2 separate regions of the Homo sapiens genome follow, and region 2 is linked to region 1. The links are contacts of gene promoters, found by promoter capture Hi-C in blood cells and fetal thymus (Javierre and others, 2016). All regions are on one chromosome and are shown on one strand. Each heading gives the region's core, a stretch centred on a gene start or on the middle of the fragment in contact. The rest is flanking DNA. Distances are from core to core; before and after follow the strand shown.

Region 1 (5,579 bases), core at 1,788-4,287:
CTGCAAATTTTTATGCTCCGCTTCCCTTTTTAAGTTCCAGTTTCGGACCATCTCTTTGCTTAGGCATGTGGGCATATATTGTTAGAAGCAGCCAGGTCACATCTTAAATGTTTTGCTGCTTAGAAATTTCTTGCACCAAATTCCCTAAATCATCACTCTCAAGTTCAAACTTCCCAATAAGTTCCTCATGTCCATCTGAGACCTCATCAGCCTGGCCATCTCTGCCCCACTGTCAGCAATTTGGTCAAAACCATTCAAGTCTCTAGGATGTTCCAAACTTTCTCTCATCTTTCTGTTTTCTTCTGAGCCAACCAAACTGTTCCAATCTCTGCCCATTACCCTGTTCCAAAGCTGCTTCCACATTTTCAGGTATCTTTATAGCAATGCACCACTCCTAGGTACTAATTTTCTGTAGTAGTCTGTTCTCACACTGCTTTAAATAAATATCTGAGACTGGGTAATTTATAAAGAAACAAGGTTTAACTGGCTCACTGTTCCACATGTTGTACAGAAAGCATGGCTGGGGAGGCCTCAGGAAACTTTCAATCATGGCTGAAGGGGAAGCAGGTTCATCTTACATGGCCAAAGCAGGAGGAAGACAGAGAAGAAGGGGGCTAGAAGGAAGTCAGATGACAACAAAGAACCATAAAAAAAATTACTGGGCCAGGTGCAGTGGCTCACACCTGTAATCCCAGCAATTTGGGAGGCCAAGGCGGGTGGATTACGAGGTCAGGAGATCGAGACCATCCTGGCTAACACGGTGAAACCCCGTCTCTACTGAAAATACAAAAAAATTAGCCACTGTGGTGGCACGCACCTGTAGTCCCAGCTACTCAGGAGGCTGAGGCAGGAGAATTGTGTGAACCTGGGAGGTGGAGCTTGCAATGAGCCGAGATTGCGCCACTGCACTCCAGCCTGGATGACAGAGCAAGACTCCGTCTCAAAAAAGAAAAAGAAAATTACCAACTGAGAATTCTATATTTGACCAAACTATCCTTCAAAAAAAAAGAAAGAAAGAAAGAAAGAAAGAAAGAAAGAAAGAAAAGAGAAAGAAAGGAAGGAAGGGAAAGAAAGAAAGGAAAAATTAAGTATTCACAAATAAAGTAAGATTGTTTTTCTAGCAGATCTGCCCTACCAGAAATACTGAAGATATTGTCTCACGCTGAAATAAAAGAATACTAGCTAGTCACTCAAGTCTACACAGAGAGCACACTCATAAACTACAGAGGTAGAATAAAATTATTTGGTTTTGTTCTCCTATTATGTTTAAAAGAAAACAGCTTAAAGCAATAATTATAAAACTGGGTTGGTGGGATTATAATGTTTAAATATATGTATGTATAACATGAATATATATAATGTGCATGGCAATAATAGCAGAAAAAATGAAGGAGGAAACCAGGTATACTGGAGCAAAACCTTTGTATGTTATTGAAACTAAATTGATATTAATTCAAACTACATTGTTTTAGGCTAATGTTATAATTGTGACCCTAGAACAAACAAAGTTTGAAAATTCACACTTCTTGATTTCAAAACTTACTACAAAGACACAGAAATCACCACAGTGTGCTACCAGTATAGGAAAAACATATAGATTAATGGGATAAAATTGAGTTCAGAAATAAACCATTTTAGTCAATTCATTTTTTACAAAGATGTGGAGACAATCAGGAAAAGAATCATCTTTTTAACAAATTGTACTGAGACAAGTGAATATCCAGATGCAAAAAATAAGATAAAATTAGACCTCTACCTCACACTATATACTAAAACTAATTCAGAATGAACCAAAGACCTAAATGTAAGGCAAAAACTACAAAACTCTTAGAAAAGTTCTAAATCTAATCTCTGTGAAGTTGGGCCAGGGAATGCAGGCAATGTCTTTTTCTTTTTTTTTAGTTATGATACCAAAAACACAAGCAATAAAAGAAAAAGAATGGCAAATTTAAATTTCACTTAAATTTAAAACTTTTGTGCTTCAAGAGACACTGTCAAGAAAATGTAAAGGCAGCCCATAGAAAAGGAGGAATATTTGCAAATTATGTATCTGATAAGAGACTAGCATCTAGAACATATTAAAAAATCACAACTCAGTAATAAAAATCCAAACAGTCTAATCATAAAAAGTCACATATTGTATAAATCTATTTACATAAAATGTCCAGAAGGCAGACAGAAGATTAGTGGTTGCCAGGTACTTGGGGGAGAGGGAGGGTGAATGTCTGCTAACAGGTACAGGGTTTCTTTGGAGCTTGTTCTAAATGAAAATGTTCTAAAATTAGATAGTAATGATGGTTGTATACCTCTGTAAATATATTTAAAATGATTGAATTATATACTTTAAGATAAATTTTATGGTATGTGAATTATATTTTAATAACTCTATTATAAAAAGTGCTACAATAAACATCCTTCATGTCTCTCAGTGCATCAGTTGTATACATGTTTATACACTCTATGGACCTAGAACTGGAAATTCTGGGTTGTAGATTTTCAGTTTTGCTAGAACTTGACAAGTTTCTCTACAAACTAGTTATATCCATTTATAATCCCACCAGTCGTGTGAGAAAGTTCAACTTTCTTTTATCTTTGCCAATATTTGAAATTATCTTTTTTTAATTTTTACTTGTATTTTAGTACTTTTTAACTTATTAGCTGGGAAATAATATTTTAATGGTTTGTATTTTCATAACTTCAAGTGAGATTAAAAATCTTTTAAAATATTTATTGGCCATTCAGTTTTCCTTTTCTGTGAATTTTCTATTCTTATCCTTTGCCCAGCTTCTACTGGACTGTTGGTCTGAAGAACTATCTTTCAGTGCTTGTAACATAGAAACCAGAAACTTACCCACCCCTCAATAATGACAGGTGAGCATTAGTAGCCACTTGGGCATGCCAGGACATTCTACCACATTCATTCCAGAATGGAATCTTTGAAACATATGGTTGCCATGACGAGTGTCAACATTTCAAAGAATTTGCTTGGTTGATAACTACCTAGAGTATTTTACCTTTGGCTAAGAGGTAATATACTAGAGTTTCTCTTCACTACTTTGTCTCACCGTGATTACAGAGAAGTTACAAATATGTAAGTGAATTCCTATTAATATTTCTGTCATTCAAAAGCTTGTCTTTTTTTCTAATCCTGACTACTTTTCTTAATTTTTGTTCTGTTAAGAAAAAGAACCATGAATACATTAGAAAATTACGTTATGGCCCAGGTATGGTGGCTCACACCTGTAATCCCAGCACTTTGGGAGGCTGTGGGCGGATCATGAGGTCAGGAGGTCGAGACCACCCTAGGCAACTTGGTGAAACCCCATCTCTACTAAAAATACAAAAATTAGCTGGGTGTGGTGGCGGGTGCCTGTAATCCCAGCTACTCAGGAGGCTGAGGCAGGAGAATCACTTGAACTCGGGAGGTGGAGGTTGCAGTGAGCCGAGATCATGCTACTGCACTCCAGCCTGGCAACAGAGTGAGACAAAAAAAAAAAAAAAAAAAAAAAAAAGAAAAGAAAAAGAAAATTACATTACTATGGGCCCTCATCCAGAAATCTTGCCAAAGTTGGCAATTGGAAGAATTTGTCTTTATTCATTAATCTCCTAACTTCATGCCTTACTAGTAAGGATTATCTTATTAGTAAGGATGAGAGAAACCACAACTATATAGATAAATATATTTATTATAAGGTATTGGTTTACACAATAATAGAAGCTAGGAAGTCCTGGATTCTGCTTTCTGCAAGACAGAGACCCAGGAGATCCAATGGTGCAGTTTGAAGGCCTGAGAGCAAGAGAGTTGATGATAAAAATTCCAGCCTGGTTCTGAGGATCTGAGAACCAGAGCACCGAGGGCAGCAGATTTGTGTCCCAAGTCAAGTAGTCAGGCAAAGAGAAAACTAAGCATTCTTCTGCCTTCTTGTTTTATTCAGGCCCTCAATGGATTGGAAGATGTTGACCCACATTAGGGAGTGTCATCTCCTATCATCAGAACACCAATTTAAATGCTAATCTCTTCTGGAAATACCCTCACAGACATACCCCAAAATAATGTTTACCAGATATCTGGGCATCCTATGGCTCACTCAGTTTGACACGTAATATTAACTAACCATAATGAGTTCCCACGTTGAAAATTTGGCACCCATATACATATCCTTAAGCCATAGTTAATCTCCAAATAAAGTCAATAAGAAGCTCATAATTCCATTTAACATGTTGAAATGTAGTGGGATTGATAAGGAATCAGAGAGACCGATGGGGTTGAGAAGGATATTTATTATTTAGGTGCACCGGCCCAGTTGGATTAACCTCCAAAGGACTGAGCCCTGAACAAAGAGTTATCTTTTAATCATTTCGTGGGGTGGGGGAGATCTGTGTAGGGGGAAGCATATTACAGAAGTGAGAAACAAAGACAGTTATTCAATTAATTGAAACATGCATTACATCATTTCTTACTTTTCAAGGAAAAACATGTTTTATGACTTGAGTTTATCTGTCTAGTGACCTTGCAGCTGCACAGCTAGAGAAACAGGGTCTTCACAATGCCTGGGAAAGGAGGAGAGATAAGGCTCACTAGCCACAGAAAAACAGGCAGTTAATTTTAAAGGACTCCAGCTCTTTCTCTTTCTCTGGGGAATTGGGTTTTCTTACATACAACTGAGTTTCTGCTTACACATTCTTTAATTTCTTTTAATTCCTGTTCCAACATATGTCCTGCATACAACTGAAAATGCACTAAACCCTTCTCAGAGGAGGAGATAAAGTCCTTCAGTGATGTTTACTCTCTTCCTTGATGTCCTGTAACTTAAACACTATGATGTAACATTAACAATACTTAAATACTAGAATATGAAGTCATTGCATTTTGTATTATGTGATAAGAGAATAAGAAAAGAAAAAATATTTGGTATCTAATATATACACAAAGAAATGTATTCAGAACAAAATTAAAAGGAAATACTCATAATTATTACAGTCTTCATTTCTGCACTGATCACAGCATCATAATCAGTATTTTTTTTTTTTTTTTTTTTTTTTGAGACGGAGTCTCGCTCTGTCGCCCAGGCTGGAGTGCAGTGGCGGGATCTCGGCTCACTGCAAGCTCCGCCTCCCGGGTTCACGCCATTCTCCTGCCTCAGCCTCCCAAGTAGCTGGGACTACAGGCGCCCGCCACTACGCCCGGCTAATTTTTTTTGTATTTTTAGTAGAGACGGGGTTTCACCGTTTTAGCCGGGATGGTCTCGATCTCCTGACCTCGTGATCCGCCCGCCTCGGCCTCCCAAAGTGCTGGGATTACAGGCGTGAGCCACCGCGCCCGGCCCATAATCAGTATTTTTAACTCCCTTTTTCTACTACACATTCTGTAGTTTCTTTGCCTTCAGTAAGCACCTCAGCTGCTTGTGGTTCTTTACCTGCTAAAGTGATCCATAAAGGTCTGGGTCACTAGTAGTCCTACCTGCACTGGGTGGTTGTAGTTTTCCATTGATCTTAATCACAGGACACAGTAATACTAAGAGACACACTAAGGGATCTTTTGTATTGCAGACATACTCTTCCTTGCCTCCATTATGGAA
Region 2 (5,189 bases), core at 1,404-3,903, 500 kb before region 1:
CCCTTGGAACCAGATCCCTGCTCTGTGAAATACTTGTGATAGAACACAGCAGTAGTTCTCAAACTTTAGCATGCATCAGAATTGCCTGGGAGGACTTATTATATATGGATTGCTGGGACTGACCAACCTTCAGAGTTCCTAATTCAGCATACCTGGCTGGAGCCTAGACATTTATATTTCTAATCTGTTTCGAGGTGATTCTGCTGCTGCTGGTGGTCCAGAGACCACACGTGAGAACCACTGGACTAGGGAGATCTTGTACATCATAGACACATTGGTTTCTCTGGACACAGAATGGATCTCAGAAGTCAAGTGTAATTTTGCAGATTTGGACACTATGGTTTAAGGAAGCCAAGTGACATTGCTTGAGGCCATGAAGCAGAACTAAAAGCTCTCTGCTCCCATCTCAGAGCTTGCTGATTCTACATTACTCTGTTCAGCCAGTCTCTGTGCTCATGACTCCCATGGTCCCAACAACGTTTGAGGTCTATGAATGTTTCCAAAAGTTAAAGATAGGTCTTTAACTTCTCAAAAAATGATTTTAACCATTCTGCATAAAAATCTTTCTAAAATGTATTATATTCTTCTGGACCTCACATAGAGTATGTAGGACATACTTGAACCCAATTTTTTTCAATGAGTGCTCACTTCTATGGTGGGAAGAGTAGGTTTGGTAGGGAAAGGGCAGATACCAAGAGTTCATTCTAGACATATTAAGTTTGAGATGTATATTAGGTGTCCAAGTTAAAATACAAGCAGGGGCTAGAGAATATTGATCTGGAGCTCAGGGGAAAAGTCTAGACTAGAGATATTAATTTATAAGTCATTAGGATGTAAATATAATTTAAAGACCTTTGTTGTACTACATTATCTAAAGTCTGAGAAGAGGTAGAGAGGAGAAGAAATACAAGGACCAAGCCCTTAGGGCACTCCAATATTTAAAGATTGGAAAAATGAGGAAAAATCCACAAAGACCAAGAAGGTAAAGCCAGAGAAACCAATATAACCAAACCAATATGAGAGCAGGTTGGATTTATAGTACAGTGGCAGATAGTGTATAAATATATAATTGCCAGACTTTGGGGCTTCAATTCAGATTACATCTGTTTTCTCAGTGAAATAGGAAACAAGTCAATGAACAAGAATATAAATATGAAATGAGACCAGTCAATATGGCTATGTGTTTTTCTCCAGCCATATTCAGTTGTATGGGGGGCAGGCAGGGACGAGACAGTTATGTTCAACTTTCTAAGTTAAATCTGGGAAAATATAGGAAAGTAGTTGATAGACAAGGGTATTGAGGATGTTTGCCAGGGAATTATTAAAATTTAATGATGTAACTAAAGCTGGTTTAAGAGGGAAGTAAAGACAGAAAAGGTTAGGGGGAATGAAAAAGCGGTAGAATCAATGAGTATCAGATTACTATGTTTTAAGCCAGAAATGTCACTGGAGAATACCGAGTTAATAGAGTTGTTTCTAATTTTTTGGCAGTAGGTGAGGTATTACCTATAAAAACTCTGAAAATGCTATCCTTGCTTCTATTGGTTTTCAGCAGCATTTTTTCTCACTCACTGTTAAGCTTTCAGGTTTCTCTATTCTGCCACTGCTCTCCCTTTGTCTGCCCCTCTTCTCTCCACCTACCTCCTTCCCCAACCCTCAACACATACCTAGTCTTACTTTCTGCTTCCAGTGGGCCATTGAATGAGAAAATGAATTATTAGAATTGTGTGTAAGAGTAAATAGGATTCTGAGAAGTCGGAATCAGATTCACAAAGTGTTTGACAAACATTCAAATTTCTCATCAGAAGTCACTCGGAGCTGAGATGCTTCCTATCTTTTATGCAGCAATATTCCGAATAGTTACTTTACTAAATGAGTCATTTCTCTGAAATCAAATCTGTAGTTGGATCCAGGTTTTCTATTTGCTGAATGAAAAACCTTGGGTAAGCCACCTAACTACCCTCTGAGCCTCAGTTTTCTCATTTGCAAAATGAAGTTTCCTAAAACTACTTCTTCCTCTAGACCATAAGCCTACTAAAGGTTAGGGCCATGTTTTATATATTTTTGCATATCTATTGCCTAATGTAGTATTTGGATTATAAAAGATGTTCAATACTGTAAAAAAGTCAGTAAATGAATGAGAATCTCAGAAAAAATGTAAGCATTTTAATAAGTAGCAAAACTACATGCAAATGAAGTAAACAGTAAACAATGTCAAGCAACAAATGGTACTCCGAGCTCTATTTTTAGAGAGGGAATACAATTGATTCTGTGAGGCATTTGCTATAAGGTAAAAGAATGAGGTCATGTGGGAAAAGGCTAGAGTGCTACCTGAAGGTACATATTGAGCCAGCACACTCCTGAGTATATTTCCCATTTCTCCAAATACCGTGTGTGGTAAGCTGAACCATGGCCCCCCAAGATGCCTTCATCCTAATCTCTGGTGCCTGTGAATATTATCTTATATGGCAAAAGAGACTTTGCAGGTGTGATTAAATTAAATATCTTGAGATAAAGATGTTATGCTGGATTATCCAAGTGGGCCCAGTGTAATCATAGGGATTCTTTTAAGAGGGAGGCAGGAGATGAGGGAGACCGAAGGTGATATGATAACAGATGAAGAAAGATAGGGAGAAAGGGATTTGAAGATACTATGCAGCTGGCTTTGAAGACACAGGAACATGGCCATGAACCCAAGGATGTAAATGGCCTCTAGAAGGTGGAAGAGACCAAGAAATGAATTCTCCCCTAGAGTCTCCAGAAAGAACCAATCCTGCTGGCACCTTGACTTTAACCCAATTAAAATTTATTTCAAACTTCTGGCTTCCAGAACGATCATAAATCTTCATTGTGTTTGTGGTAATTTGTTACAATGGCAATAGGAAACTAACGTGCATGTTTTCACATAGAATTTAAAAGAGAAATCATGAAAATTTCATTAAAAATAAAGATAAATATATGTGACTCTCTTGCCAGCGTACTACAAATGCCAGTTGGTTTTAGCAAATGCAGTTATTTGACTGAGGATAATTTTGAGAGAGAAGACACTTTGGAAGTGGAATAAAAATTATTCTTCATATTTTAGGGTAGAGGAAACATAATTAGGTAATGGATAAAACTCGCCAGGGCACACTCAAATAGAAAGTTTCTTGCCTTTTTTCACTACCTCCTCATGGGATCAGGTGATTCTCTCCTACAGTGCACTTTGGGACAACAACCCTTTTCCTTTATCCTTCACACATTCTCTTATTCTCTAACAGGCCATCTCAAAACTGTTTAGGTGGCAAGGACATTAATGACCATTTTGTTATACAAATTATACCTTTGTAAGTAGACAGCATTTCACAACTTAGCATACTAATCAGGTTCTCCCAGCCCCCTCTAATTCAGTTCCACTCTGCTGGACTATGCCATTTTTAATCCTACCCCTCTGTACTGAACACTAGACAAATCCTTGAGTTGGTGGAAGATGAATGAAAGAAAACATGATGAACCAACCGAAGCAGAAAAAGTGATCAAAGAGCACCCCAGGCCTAAAAAATCAAGGTCCTCTCTATAGACCCAATTTAAAGTACGTGATTCAAAATTGTTGTTGCTCAAAATGACCGAGCTAGTCTCAAGAGCTTTGCTAATGACTTTGCCATCTGGGAAGGCAGAGAACTTAAAAGATAATTATTTTAGGGGTGAGGGACTAGCACAAGATTACAAGAATATCAAATGTAAATGAAAAGCTTTGGCCATAGCAAACACTGACAAACTGTCCACAGGAATAGCTTACCTAAAATCCAATTAAAACAGTAAGGCCCCTTATTTAATTGCCCTTAAATAGGAAGTCCAACCCCTAAAATGTATGCCTAAGGGCGACAGAACTCTTCACTGAAACTTCTCCTGTAAGGAACCGCAAATCACTCTACGGATCCCAGAGCAAGGACATCATCTAGTGTATGAGCTTCCCTCTAGAACTCACTTATACTGGGAAATGGATTGGGATGGTGAAGTAGCTTTGAAAACCCCTGCTTACTGTGGTAAACACTTAAGCTGGTTAGGATACAGTCAGGACTACTTACCCCTCACAAGGAGACAACCAGAGAGGTTTAAATAAGCTCTTTCAAATACATTAAGGACCCACAAGCCTCAATAGAAAGTAAAAAAGACAACATGCAGAATTTTTGCTATCTGTTCCTTGAAATGATAAAGTGAAAGTTACTCCTTTTATAATAATTTAGATGCAGGTCAACTCCATGGTATCAAGTCATGAACATTCTGTAATTCTGTAGAAACTACAAAAAATGAAGGAATATTGACCTGAACTTTTTTGGTGGGGAGCGGTGTTTCTTTAATTCTTCTTAGCACCTCTTTAAGAAATTTTCCTTCTCTATTCAATCTGTTTCATGGGTGAGGCTGGTGAATAAGAATCATTTGCTTCATTGCTCTAGTAAGCCTGTGTTTAAGGGATGATGTCTAATCTGGTGTATACGCTAGAGTAGTACAAATATTTGGAGTCATTATAAGTTGTTCAAACCCTCTCAGCATCTGCTATATTGCTTTTAAATATAATGTGTAACAACACTTGCACTTCCTACCTAGGCAGAATAATAAGGACAATATTTACCATTTTCTATGGAAAAACCAATATAACCAGTCAAAATATATGAAACAATATTTTTTAAGATACTGGATATTAAGGAACAGAGAAAAAGGGTCCCACAGATACAGAAAATGAGTAAGGTGAGCCCTACAATTACCTCAGATTTCTGCCTTGTGATGATTGCCAGTCCATAGCACATGAAGAGAAAATCCAGGTAGAGTTGAGGGGACTCCCTGAGTTGAAGAGACAAAGCTAAGAGTCCAGGGAGACCAACGTAGCTACAGTTCACAAGACAGAGAACCAGGAAGTACATAGCTGCACAAAGGAAGAAGTCCAAGGACTAGCAAAGTGTCCCCCTTGAGTATTCATTAGAGTACTGATCAGTGCATGCATGTAAAGAAACCAACCAAGCTAGGGAAACAACTACTGGAAAAGTTTAATGATAATAGTACGTGGCAATTACACAGGACCTGGAAGAGTATCTGCCCTTATCACCATAGGAAAATGTGAAAATTCACAATGAATTAAGAAGAGTACACAGGATAGTCTTACCTCTGTGGAATAATTAGTAATAGATCAAATAATACTCTGGTCCCATGTA

The links. The method cuts DNA at HindIII sites, captures the fragments that hold promoters and counts their contacts. A CHiCAGO score of 5 or more calls a contact.
Region 2: a contact is called between a fragment that was not itself captured here and the fragment with the promoter of MROH9 in region 1, in 3 of 17 cell types (megakaryocytes, M0 macrophages and M2 macrophages). The highest score is 8.8, in megakaryocytes.

Annotation. Positions count from the first base shown.
Region 1 is chr1:170,932,497-170,938,075 of GRCh38, forward strand. It overlaps MROH9 (maestro heat like repeat family member 9), which reads left to right and starts at 3,038. Exons shown (of 22, transcript NM_001163629.2): 1 at 3,038-3,091. The HindIII fragment of the contact is 7,245 bases long and covers 1-3,127 here.
Region 2 is chr1:170,434,390-170,439,578 of GRCh38, forward strand. No RefSeq gene overlaps it. Among named protein-coding and RNA genes, the nearest start is that of GORAB, 95 kb to the right of the region's middle. The HindIII fragment of the contact is 2,152 bases long and covers 1,578-3,729 here.